3 separate regions of the Homo sapiens genome follow, and all the other regions are linked to region 1. The links are contacts of gene promoters, found by promoter capture Hi-C in blood cells and fetal thymus (Javierre and others, 2016). All regions are on one chromosome and are shown on one strand. Each heading gives the region's core, a stretch centred on a gene start or on the middle of the fragment in contact. The rest is flanking DNA. Distances are from core to core; before and after follow the strand shown.

The links. The method cuts DNA at HindIII sites, captures the fragments that hold promoters and counts their contacts. A CHiCAGO score of 5 or more calls a contact.
Region 2: a contact is called between the fragment with the promoter of ACBD3 here and the fragment with the promoter of PYCR2 in region 1, in 1 of 17 cell types (neutrophils). The highest score is 5.8, in neutrophils.
Region 3: a fragment that was not itself captured here is called in contact with the fragment with the promoter of PYCR2 in region 1 in 1 of 17 cell types (naive CD8 T cells); the score reaches 6.5 in naive CD8 T cells.

Annotation. Positions count from the first base shown.
Region 1 is chr1:225,922,980-225,926,730 of GRCh38, forward strand. PYCR2 (pyrroline-5-carboxylate reductase 2) reads right to left here and starts at 1,271. Exons shown (of 7, transcript NM_013328.4): 1 at 1,065-1,271; 2 at 722-792. The coding sequence starts at 1,131. RefSeq lists silencers at 868-997, 1,308-1,397, 1,538-1,617 and an enhancer at 1,168-1,817. The HindIII fragment of the contact is 26,114 bases long and covers 1-3,751 here.
Region 2 is chr1:226,184,595-226,188,440 of GRCh38, forward strand. It overlaps ACBD3 (acyl-CoA binding domain containing 3), which reads right to left and starts at 2,147. Exons shown (of 8, transcript NM_022735.4): 1 at 1,796-2,147. The coding sequence starts at 2,081. LOC101927247 (a long non-coding RNA gene) reads left to right here and starts at 3,302. Exons shown (of 2, transcript XR_001738504.2): 1 at 3,302-3,339. RefSeq lists silencers at 1,638-2,117, 1,754-2,048. The HindIII fragment of the contact is 12,408 bases long and covers 1-3,846 here.
Region 3 is chr1:225,618,030-225,621,680 of GRCh38, forward strand. All of the region lies in intron 1 of ENAH (ENAH actin regulator), which reads right to left. Among named protein-coding and RNA genes, the nearest start is that of ENAH, 33 kb to the right of the region's middle. The HindIII fragment of the contact is 4,631 bases long and covers 1-3,651 here.

The DNA of each region.
Region 1 (3,751 bases), core at 21-2,520:
AGAACAGAACAACTAACTCACCAGATTCTTCCCAATATGCTCATTCACGACTCAGAATAACAGCAAAGTGGCCACTGTTGTAAATGAGGAAATAGCCTCAAAGTGGCTGAGTACTTTAAGGTCATACAACTCGTCTATTAAGAAAAATGGCTGAGCGCAGTGGCTCACCCCTGTAATCCCAGCACTTTGGGAGGCCAAGGCGGGCAGATCACTTGAGGCCAGGAGTTCGAGACCAGCCTGGCCAACAGTATTCTCTACCAAAAATACAAAAATTAGCTGCGCGTGGTGGATGCCTGTAATTCCAGCTACTCGGGAGGCTGAGGTGGGAGGCTGAGGTGGGAGGCGGAGGTTACAGTGAGCTGAGATCGCGCCACTGCACTCCAGCTTGGGCGACAGAGTAAGACCCTGTCTGAAAAAAAATTTAAAAAATGAGTATTTATTAGGTACCTACTATGTGCCAGGTGCTTTCATCACATAATCACCTCAGTTAATCCTCTACCACTCCAGTGTCTGGATCTGACCCCCAGTTATGTCTCCCTGGGTGTTCCCACCACATTGAGCTGCCCAAGAGAAGGTGGAAAGATTGTCACGTTCCTGGAGTAAAGGTCACCGCCGGCCAAAGACCAGCACTTGGGCGCAGGGGCCGGCCAGACTCACTTCATCTCAGGTCATCCTTTTCCTGGGCCTCCACCCGCTTCCCACTCCGCCCGGCTCCACCTACCCTGAGCGCGGACACCGTGGGCAGGTTCATTTCTGGGGAGCTGGCTATTATCTTGTGAGCCGACAGGATGCCTGCAGAAGACAGAGCTTTTCAACTAGGGGTCGCGGCCCAGCCCGTTACCACGCTTTCCCTGGCTCTAAAACCCAGAGCCGTCCTAACAGTGCCAGTCTCCCTCTCCCCCTCAACCCTCTACGAGGACAGAAGACGCACTTGCTGCTCAACCAGAGTCTCATCTACCCCACCGGACGCAAACTCCCCTTTCATTCGCTCATGCTGGTGGGACGGAGGCCCCCTCGGGCCTCGGGACCGCCCGCGAAGCCGCCTCCCGCCTCCACGCGCTTGCCTGCGGCCGTGAAGCCCCGCGCCAGAGCATAGGCCAGCTGGCCGGCCCCGATGAAGCCCACGCTCATGGTCCGCGGTTCACGCCTCCTGGGAGCCGCACGAACCCCCTCAGCGAGGGACCGGAAGTAACGCTAGGGGAAGGGCGGACAGCGCAGGGGCGAACGGGCGGCGTGCCGAGGACCGGCGAGCTAACAGCAGCTTCTGGGATGGTGCAACCCTATTCTCCCCCGGCGGATATCTCCCGGGCGGCTGATGGCGCCTTAGGCCACGTGGCCCCGCCCCGTCCGGGCGACCAATCAGTGGCCAGGATCTCGGGGCAGGCCAATCCGCGGCCCGAGCCAGGCCGCGTGCCCGCCTCCTCCGCTCGCGACTGGAGGGCGGAACTCCGGGCTGGAGTCCCGGAAGCCCCTGTGGCAGCTTGGCGTGAGCTCCAGGCGCCCGCCGGCCCAGGACGCCCGGCCGCCCCCACCCCCCCCCCCCACCCCAAGGCTGAGGTCGCCGTCCCTAAGCCACCTCGGGCTCAGGGCTGAGGCCTGGCCCAGGCCTGGCTAATATTATTTCTGGCGCTGGCCATCAGATGCCCCTCAAGGCCCACAGGAATTCTCCAGGTTGCCGATTTGCGGGGATGAACGAGGCCCTCCTGGCGTAGGTTCAGACCAGGTGGCGGCGAGGTTCAGACCAGGTGGCGGCGAGGCGGCACCAGGGTGGTCAGCCGCGGCTTATTCACTTGAACTTGAGTGTTTCTCGCGAATTTGTCCAAACTAGATACAAGAAGGACAAGTTCGAGTCTCCGACTCTTCCGCGATCCCGCACCCCCCAGCCCCTTGCTGTCACTTGCCTTTTTTTTTTTGAGACGGAGTTTCACTCTTGTTGCCCAGGATGGAGTGCAGTGGCACGATCTCGGCTCACTGCAATCTCCGCCTCCCGGGTTCAAGCGATTCTCCTGCCTCAGCCTCCCCAGTAGCTGGGATTACAGGCGCCCGCTACCACGACCGGATAATTTTTGTATTTTTAGTAGAGACGGGGTTTCACCATGTTGTTCAGGCTGGTCTTCAACTCCTGACATCAGGTTATCCGCCCGCCTCGGCCTCCCAAAGTGCTGGGATTATAAGCGTGAGCCACCGCGCCCGACCTGTCTCTTGCTTTTAAAAGCTCCACCAATGTGATGTTTCCTTTTCTATCAGTAGTAAATATAAGGGGCCGCAGGGAACAAATGACAGAAGTAGAGAGGAAGAAGGTGGCGTTCCTAGAGGACTCAGAAGAGCTGAGGACCCTTAGTTCCCATGGTCTCTCTGCTAGCTTTTCTAGTCCTTTCCGTGTAATGCACACCCCCACTCCCAGGCAAGGGGCTGCTTTCTGTGAACTTCCCTGAGCAAGTCCCCAGGCCCTCAGTTTGTGCACCCTTTAAAGTGAGGACCAAATATAATATTTACTATTAAGCAAAATAATGCTATGTTTTATTTATTTATTTATTTATTTATTTATTGAGACAGAGTTTCGCTCTTGTTGCCCAGGCTGGAGTGCAATGGCACGATCTCGGCTCACTGCAACCTCCACCTCCCGGGTTCAAGCGATTCTCCTGCTTCAGCCTCCTGAGTAGCTGGGATTACAGGCATGCGCCACCACGCCCGGCTAATTTTTTGTATTTTTAGTAGAGACAGGGTTTCTCCATGTTGGTCAGGCTGATCTTGAACTCCCGACCTGAGGTGATCTGCCTGTCTCAGCCTCCCAAAGTGCTGGGATTACAGGCGTGAGCCACAGCACCTGGCCTCTGTATTTTTTAAATTCGAAAAGTAATACAGACATATTGAAGAAAGTTTGGAGATAAAAGTAAAAATAAAATCATCCACATCATACTTCCCAAAGATAGTTTCTTACAAACATTTTTGGTGTATTTCCTTACACTATCATGTCCTATGCATATCTACTTTCTCCATCATTGGAAATAAATGATGTACATGTAGTTTTGAAATTTCTCTAGTAGACATGAGCATTTTCCAATGTCACTGAAAAGTTATTTAAGACAGTTTTAATGACTACTTATTATATGTATGTACCTTACTGATTTAACCATTCAAAGGTCAATGTTAGGTTTATTGATTTATATAATAGATAACTTACTGAGCCAGGTTCTGGGAGTATAGCTATGAACAAAACAGACAAGTTCCTGTCCTCATAAAACATCAATTTATTATTATTTCTTATTTTTATTTATTTATTTATTTTTGAGACGGAGTCTTTGTTACCCAGGCTGGAGTGAAGTGGCATGATCTCGGCTCACTGCAACCTCCATCTCCCGGGTTCAAGCGATTCTCCTGTCTCAGCCTTCCGAGTACCTGGGATTACAGGCATGTGTCACCACGCCTGGCCAATTTTTGTATTTTTAGTAGAGATGGGGTTTCACCATGTTGGCCAGGCTGGTCTCCAACTCCTGACCTCAGGTGATCCACCCGCCTCAGCCTCCCAAAGTGCTGGGATCACAGACATGAGCCACCACTCCTGGCCTTCAATTTTTTAAATTTTTGTTCATATTATTGTGATAAAATCTTTGCCTGACTCATTATTTTCTTAACATGACTCCCAGAAGTGAGATTTGTAAGGTCCAGTGGTTTGGGGCTTTAAGAGCTCCCATAGCTGCCATGTTGCAGCATAGCCTAATGGTTACCAGCGTAAAGCTCTGAAACCAGA
Region 2 (3,846 bases), core at 897-3,396, 260 kb after region 1:
ACTGATTCTGGAAAAGTTAATTGTCTAGTTTACAAGGTAACTAGAATCCAGAGCTTCCTGACTCTCCAAACAATGTTAAGTATACTACACGTTACAGTGTTTTAATCTTTTTCTTTGTTTTGAGACAGAATTTCACTTTGTCGCCCAGGATGGAGTGCAGTGGCATGATCTCGGCTCACTGCAACCTCTGCCTCCCATATTGAAGCGATTCTTTTTTTTTTTTTAGACGGAGTTTTGCTCGTCGCCCAGGCTGGAGTACAATGGTGCCATCTTGGCTCACTGCAACCTCCGCCTCCCGGGTTCAAGTGATTCTCCTGCCTCAGCCTCCCTCAGTCCTGCAACAGAGCAGGACTCCAGCTCAAAAAAAAAAAAAAAAAGGAATTAGTTCATTTCTACTCTTACTCTCTGCTACAATATACTTTACTGAAAAATAAGTTCCAAGAATAAAAATTTAAGATGGAATGTAGCTATATGAATTGTACAGAAACCACCTGATTTTTATCAAGTGGTAATATATCATCACTACAGCAAACTCTAAATTCAAGCCGGTGATCTAAAAGTCAAATGATCCAAAACCCATTAGCCATTACCAATTCCCCAAGCTAGTTAGTACACAGAGGGCTCAACTCATTGTGCAATGACCACGAATATGTCATTGAATGTGAAATGATCAAATGTTCTGGAAAATTTATAAAACTTTCACTAGTTTGCACAATTAAAGTTATTTTGAGAGAAAACAACTTCCGTGTGTATCATTACATTGAACTACTCAACTTTGGCTAGTAAAATATGTACTCCAAAAGGTACTCCCTCTGGGGAAAGTGTCATAAATATGCTGCTCTGGAATGTACGTGGAACCTAGCAACCACTTTTAAAGTTGCATTTGCTGATGTCCCTCCCTGTCCATTCGCCCTACAAGACTAAGTATCTTTAAGAATCAAACTAACGGGCTTTCATCAGTTTTTCCCACTGACAAAAATCATGTGATTGGTCTCTCCACCATTCGACTAAGTGAATCACCCAATTAAAAAAAAAAAAAACCGCACACTACAATCTTGCTCTAAGACAAGAGACATTTAACAATTAATTATGCGAAAAGCACAGAAGGTACTGTTAGGCCTTACTCTGAGAATTCACTCTTGCACATTGCTTACAATGTAAAATTTTAACCACCTAGAAGTTACTAGAACATAGTGGACATCTCTCCTCAAGAGTTTGACAAGCCGGAGAGGATGATGAGCTTAACACTTTACTTCCTCCTCTCTGCCACATCAATCTGCCGGGGGATCAAGTCCTGTTCCAGTTTATGGTTCCCAAGAATGGCTGGAAAAGCTATGTATGGAACCTCTTGACAGATTTCTTCCACTAAGGGTAAAAATCGGCGGGTTCTGATGTGACAAGCCATGGGAAATAGGAAAAGAAAAGCGTCAGTTAAAAAAATAATAATAATAAAAGGCAATCCCAGAATGGGATCCTTTGGAAGAAAGTGGGCTCATTCTTCCACCAGGGCTCCTGGAAATCCCAGAAGCTAAATCAGGTAAAATGTCCCGGTAACCTCTGGGAGGCGGGACATGACTGCTAAACCAAGGTTGCAGGCCCGTCAGGGGTGTGACCTAGTGGCCAAGCGGGTAGTGACAAACTTCGGGTACCCCCAAGGAGGGAACCCCGCTTGAGTCACCACAGCCCAGTATGAGTGGGTGAGGGCAAGTCTGGTCCAGTCACCCTGGGGACCACAGCCCACGCCGGGCTCCCGGGGCCGGGCAGAAGCGGCGGGGGTGGGGCTGGCCCGGCTCACCTTTGAAGAAGCGCAGTGCCAGGCCGTACAACTCCTCCAGGCCGAAACCCCAGCGCTGCTCCAGCCGCCGCGCCTCCTCCGCCGCGCCCCCAGCCGCCGCCTCCCCGGGCTCGGGCTGCTCCCCTGAGGCGCCCGGGCCGCGACCGGATCCAGGTGGCGAGGGCGGTGGCAGCGGTGGCGGCAGCAGCGGGGCGCCCTCCGCCCCAGGCCGCTCCTCCGGGTCCGGGCTGAGCGTGAGGCCGTCGACGGACACCTCGAGTCGCTCTGCGTTCAGCACCGCCGCCATCTCCGGCTGCTGCACCTCCTCAGCGGGGACAGACGGCAGCCACGTATCGACTTCCTGCTGACCTCTGACCTCCGCTTACCGACACCGGAACTTCCGCTGCTGAGGAGGCTGGAGGGCTCCGGGAGAGGGGCTGAGGCCTGGCGCCCCACCCCCTCCGGAATCGTCAGTTGCCCTGGCTCAGCGACCACCCTTCAGGCTCCCCAACTCCCGTTGGTCCCGAACTCCCCTCCCCCGCACCCCATCCTTTCGGATCCCAGTTGCTCCAGGTGGGCGGGTGCTACCACCCCCACCGCTCGGTTCGGTGCTGCGGCTGTCAGTGCCCAGCAGGGGCGGGGTCAGTGGAGCCCCGCGCGGGGGTCGGAGTAGGGAGGATTGACGAGGTCGGCCAGCACCCAACCCTCCAGGTCAGAGGCCCTTCACATTTGCAGGGGCCTGCGTGGTTGGCAGAGCTCTTTTGCCCACCACCATCTCGTTTGGCCTTCACAGCAACTCTAAGGAAATGCAGGGCAAATTCCCAATTTTTTTAAAAGGGGAAACTGAGACTGCAGAGAAATTCAGTGACTTTGAGGTTGCAGACGGGGCTGATCCTGGTTTTGCAGGAAGCGCAGCTCATACAATTTGTGGGGACCCTCATTAGGAAAGAGTACAAAAAGTTACGCGCAGAAGGGTAGGAAAGTGAATGTATATTTAGAAAGAGAAAGAAAAAACAAATGATATTTTAAAAGTTAATAAAACCCACAAACATCACACACATAACCGTAATATTTTCATTGACTGCCTGATATTCTTCTACAGGGCGTCTGAGAGCCCAGAAACCTATTTTTTTCTAAAAGATTGAAGTCGCCCCCGACATTATGTATATTCACCTGTGTTTCCAGACTTTGGGAGCACCATTTATGATCATTTTTCCCACCTTTGTTTTGGCTGCGTACTTCTGATTGCCTTTTCCTATAACAATTATTTTGTAACTTTTTTTTTTTTTTTTTTTTTTTGTTTTTTGCAGACAGTCCTGCTGTGCCACCCAGGCTGGAGTGTAGTGGTGCAATTCGGTTCACTGCAACCTCTGCCTCCCGGGTTCAAGCAACTCTCCTGCCTCAGCCTCCCAAGTAGTTGGGATTACAGGTGCTCACCACCACGCCCGGCTAATTTTTGTAAACTTAGTAGAGTCAGAGTTTCCCCATGTTGGCCAGGCTGGTCTCAAACTCCTGACCTCATGTGATCTGCCCGCCTCAGCCTCCCCAAAGTGCTGGGATTACAGGTGAGAGCCACCGCGCCCGGCGTATTTTGTAATTCTCTATAAAGAAAAGAGAAAGATCAGTCTTTTCTCCAGCATGGCTGATTAAATTTGTTTCTTAATAATTGTTTATAAATTTATTTCAGCATCACAACTCATTACTGATATTGTTAACGTACTTTTTTAGGGTTATTGTTCAGTTTGGGAAACCTCTCTCAAGTTTCATGGATGTGCTATGAGATTTTTATGGCCGTTTGGCTGCTTCAGTGACAATTTTGTGTGTGGTTTTTACTGAAGCCCTAGAGAGTTTTTTTCTTTTTTTTGAGACGGAGTCTCTCTCTGTCGCCCACGCTGGAGTGCAGTGGCGCGATCTTGGCTCACTGCAAGCTCCGCCTCCAGGGTTCACGCCATTCTCCTGCCTCAGCCTCCTGAGTAGCTGGGACTATAGGTGCCCACCACCATGCCCGGCTAATTTTTTTGTATTTTTAGTAGAGACGAGGTTTCACCGTGTTAGCCAGGATGGTCTCAATC
Region 3 (3,651 bases), core at 731-3,230, 300 kb before region 1:
GAACTAAGTGAATGTAACTGGAATGAGCAGGAAAACATTTATCCTTGAGGCAAAGGAACATAATTTCAGGAACCAGGAGGCAGATTTCCACTACATACCAACTTGCACCTAATCCCAAACAGATTGTTCAACAGCTGTTGCCCTTGCCAAACTGGTCTCCATTCTCATCCAAACATCCCCCGGAGGAAAATGACAATTCCCTGAAAGCAATCAGCCTTACTAGCAATCAACTTTTCCAAAAACTGGGGAGAAAGAAAAAGTGAACCATGGGCCAATATCCCTAAAACCTAATAAAACAATATCCTGCCAGCAGCTCTTTATATGAAAGGTTCACGCATCTCACTTAAAAAAGAATGGTCATCCAGATACAAAATTGGCCACAGGGACTTCTTTCAATCATCTAGTGGCCAATTTGGAACCTTTTTCTCCTCACCTCTCCAAGATAGTACAGCACAGAAAAAAAGGGGAAGATAATCACCTCTCTGTTCCTACTATCAACTTCTGCTTCATATTCACTAATACGTAGTTCACTGATCCTAGACAGGTGCTCAGAACTGTCTCCACCCATTCCACAAATCTATCAAGTGCCTACCTACCAGTCTTTCTTGTTTTCCTCTGAAATATAGATGAATTCTCAGTGATCACTCTACAAAAACTCAACTTAGAAAGTTTCATGTTCTACTTAAAACACTTAAATGAGAACACTATCTCTGTGCTTTAGGTTTTCTGTTTTTAACCACCTTTATACCAGCAACTACCAGGAATCACCTTTAAAAAAATTCCAAAGGATTCTACTCTATACTAAATTACATTGCGTTACATGCAGGTAAAGGAAAGACATGAGCCAGAGTTCAGAGGAGTTTGATGGCACCAGTGGAGAGAGAGAAGGCCTACTTTCTGGCCCACAATAGGAGGGCAAAAGGTTAAAGAAGTCCGAGGACCCCTACAATGGCTTACCTTCTATCCCCAAGATGCCAAGCCTACATCAATTCATCTCCCAAATCAGCATTACTCAAATGTTTAAGGCCTGTGATAAATAAATACACTGCATATACAACCCAGTACACACACACACACACACAAATGCACAGACACTAAATGTTTCATGAAACACTTGCCATTACCATGTGCAATGTTTCCTGAATATTTTCTATTGTCTTTCATTTGTGATAAATCCTGTTAAAAACCTACAGTTAGAAAAACTAACCTACAGTTAGCAAAACACCACCCTTGCCAATCACGGTGGGTCACGCCTGTAATCCCAGCACTTTGGGAGGCCAAGGCGGGCAGATCACTTGAGGTCAGGAGTTTGAGACCAGCCTGGCCAACATGGTAAAACCCTGTTTCTACTAAAAAATACTAAAATTAGCTGGGCATGGTGGCAAGCACCTGTAGTCCCAGCTACTCGGGAGGCTGAGGCAGGAGAATCACTTGAACCTGAGAGGCAGAGGTTGCAGTGAGCTGAGATCCTGCCACTGCACTCCTGCCTGGGCAACAGAGTAAGACCCCATCTCAAAAACAGAAAAGAGAAACACCACCCTAAAATACTCCCACCTCCCTAGTCTTATTTTGGGGATCAGGGGAAGGAGGATGACTATAGAGAGAAAACCCATCAGAAACTTGGGATTAAGGAGAATCCCTGGGGCAGAAGGGCCTTCAGTCTCAGACATCCCAATTTAAAACCCTGAATGGTCTCAGAGAAATGCTTTTAAAACACAGCTATCAGGTCAATTCTGCAGTCTCAGTGTCTTCCCAAATAAATTATAGACATCAAATGTCTGGTGATACCAAAAACTACTTGTACCCTAAAAGTATTGAAATAAAAAGTACATAAATGATAATAAATTTTAAAAATTCACTAAGCTAAAAAAAAATGTCTGGTGATAATTAAATGTACCGGATTGAACCATGTGAAACTGCCAACATCTGGTGATCTGTGACTTCCAAAAACAGTAATTTCTTACAGTTTAGCCTAATAGTGTAACACATACTTCAAGGATACGATGCATTAAATGGCCTTGTGTGTACTACTTGAGAACGTACTAGCCCTCATTATAACACAGTTCCCACAGAAAGATATGTGCTAAGCTCCTACCAAAAATCTGATTTGAAAGCTGGAACTATCTGCAATTAAGATGTAATGTGATCTAGTATCTCTGAATGCTTTTCAATGTGACCACCAGCGGTTTCAACACTTCGTCACTAGAAAAGTACCAGGCCTCGCGCGGTGGTTCACACCTGTAATCCCAGCACTTTGGGAGGCCGCGGCAGGTAGATCACAAGGTCAGGAGATTGAGACCAGCCTGGCCAACATGGTGAAACCCCGTATCTACCAAAAATACAAAAATTAGCTGGGCGTGGTGCCACATGCCTGTAGTCCCAGCTACTTGGGAAGCTGAGGCAGAAAAGAAAAATCGCTTGTACCCAGGGGGCGGAGGTTGCAGTGAGCCAAGATCGGCCACTGCACTCCAGCCTGGGTAATAAGAGCAAAACTGTCTCAAAAATGTCCCAGGCCTCTAATACAAACCCACTACTTTTCCATGCAACTTGGGATACTTGATTCATTCTTGTTTTCACACAATTACCAAATCTGGAGCCTCAATCTCAGCCTGCTACTTTCTATCAGATCTATCTTATTTTCTGAAGGTATGTTCACTTCAATCAGATCATAAGCTCCTTAAATGTGGAGATAGGGCCGGGTGCAGTGGCTCACACCTGTAATCCCAGCACTTTGGGAGGCCAAGGTGGGCGGATCACCCAAGGTCAGGAGTTCAAGACCAGCCTAGCCAACATGGTGAAACCCCGTATCTACTAAAAATACAAAAATTAGCTGGGCATGGTGGCGGGCGCCTGTATTCCCAGCTACTCAGGAGGCTGAGGCAAGAGAATCGTTTGAACCTGGGAGGCAGAGACTGCAGTCAGCCGCCATCTCACCACTGCACTCCAGCCTGGGTAACAGAGCTAGACTCCATCAAAAAAAAAGAAAAAAAAGTGTGGAGATAGTCCTTTGTAGTCTTTGAAAGCCTCCTTCCTTATGGTGATATACTATCATTTGATAAAATGTGTCCCGAATTAAAACAAATCTCCTTGGGAAAATCTTCACCCATGTCCACTTGCCTAATCATCTTTTTAAGAGTGACAATGCTATCATCCTATTACCAAATTCCAGAACCTTGGTGTGACCTTTCACACCAACCATTCTCATTATACTTATCACCCTTCTGACTCAGTATGGCCATGGGAATTACTTCTTTAAATCTATCTCTCTTTTTTTTTTTTTTGAGACGCAGTCTCGCTCTGTCGCCCAGGCTGGAGTGCAGTGGCGGGATCTCGGCTCACTGCAAGCTCCGCCTCCCGGGTTCACGCCATTCTCCTGCCTCAGCCTCCCAAGTAGCTGGGACTACAGGCGCCCGCCACTACGCCCGGCTAATTTTTTGTATTTTTAGTAGAGACGGGGTTTCACCGTTTTAGCCGGGATGGTCTCGATCTCCTGACCTCGTGATCCGCCCGCCTCGGCCTCCCAAAGTGCTGGGATTACAGGCGTGAGCCACCGCGCCCGGCCTAAATCTATCTCTTAATCAACCACTAAGATTATTTTACATATACACCATAATGGCCCAGTCACTCAATCTCCCAAATTCTTCATTGGCT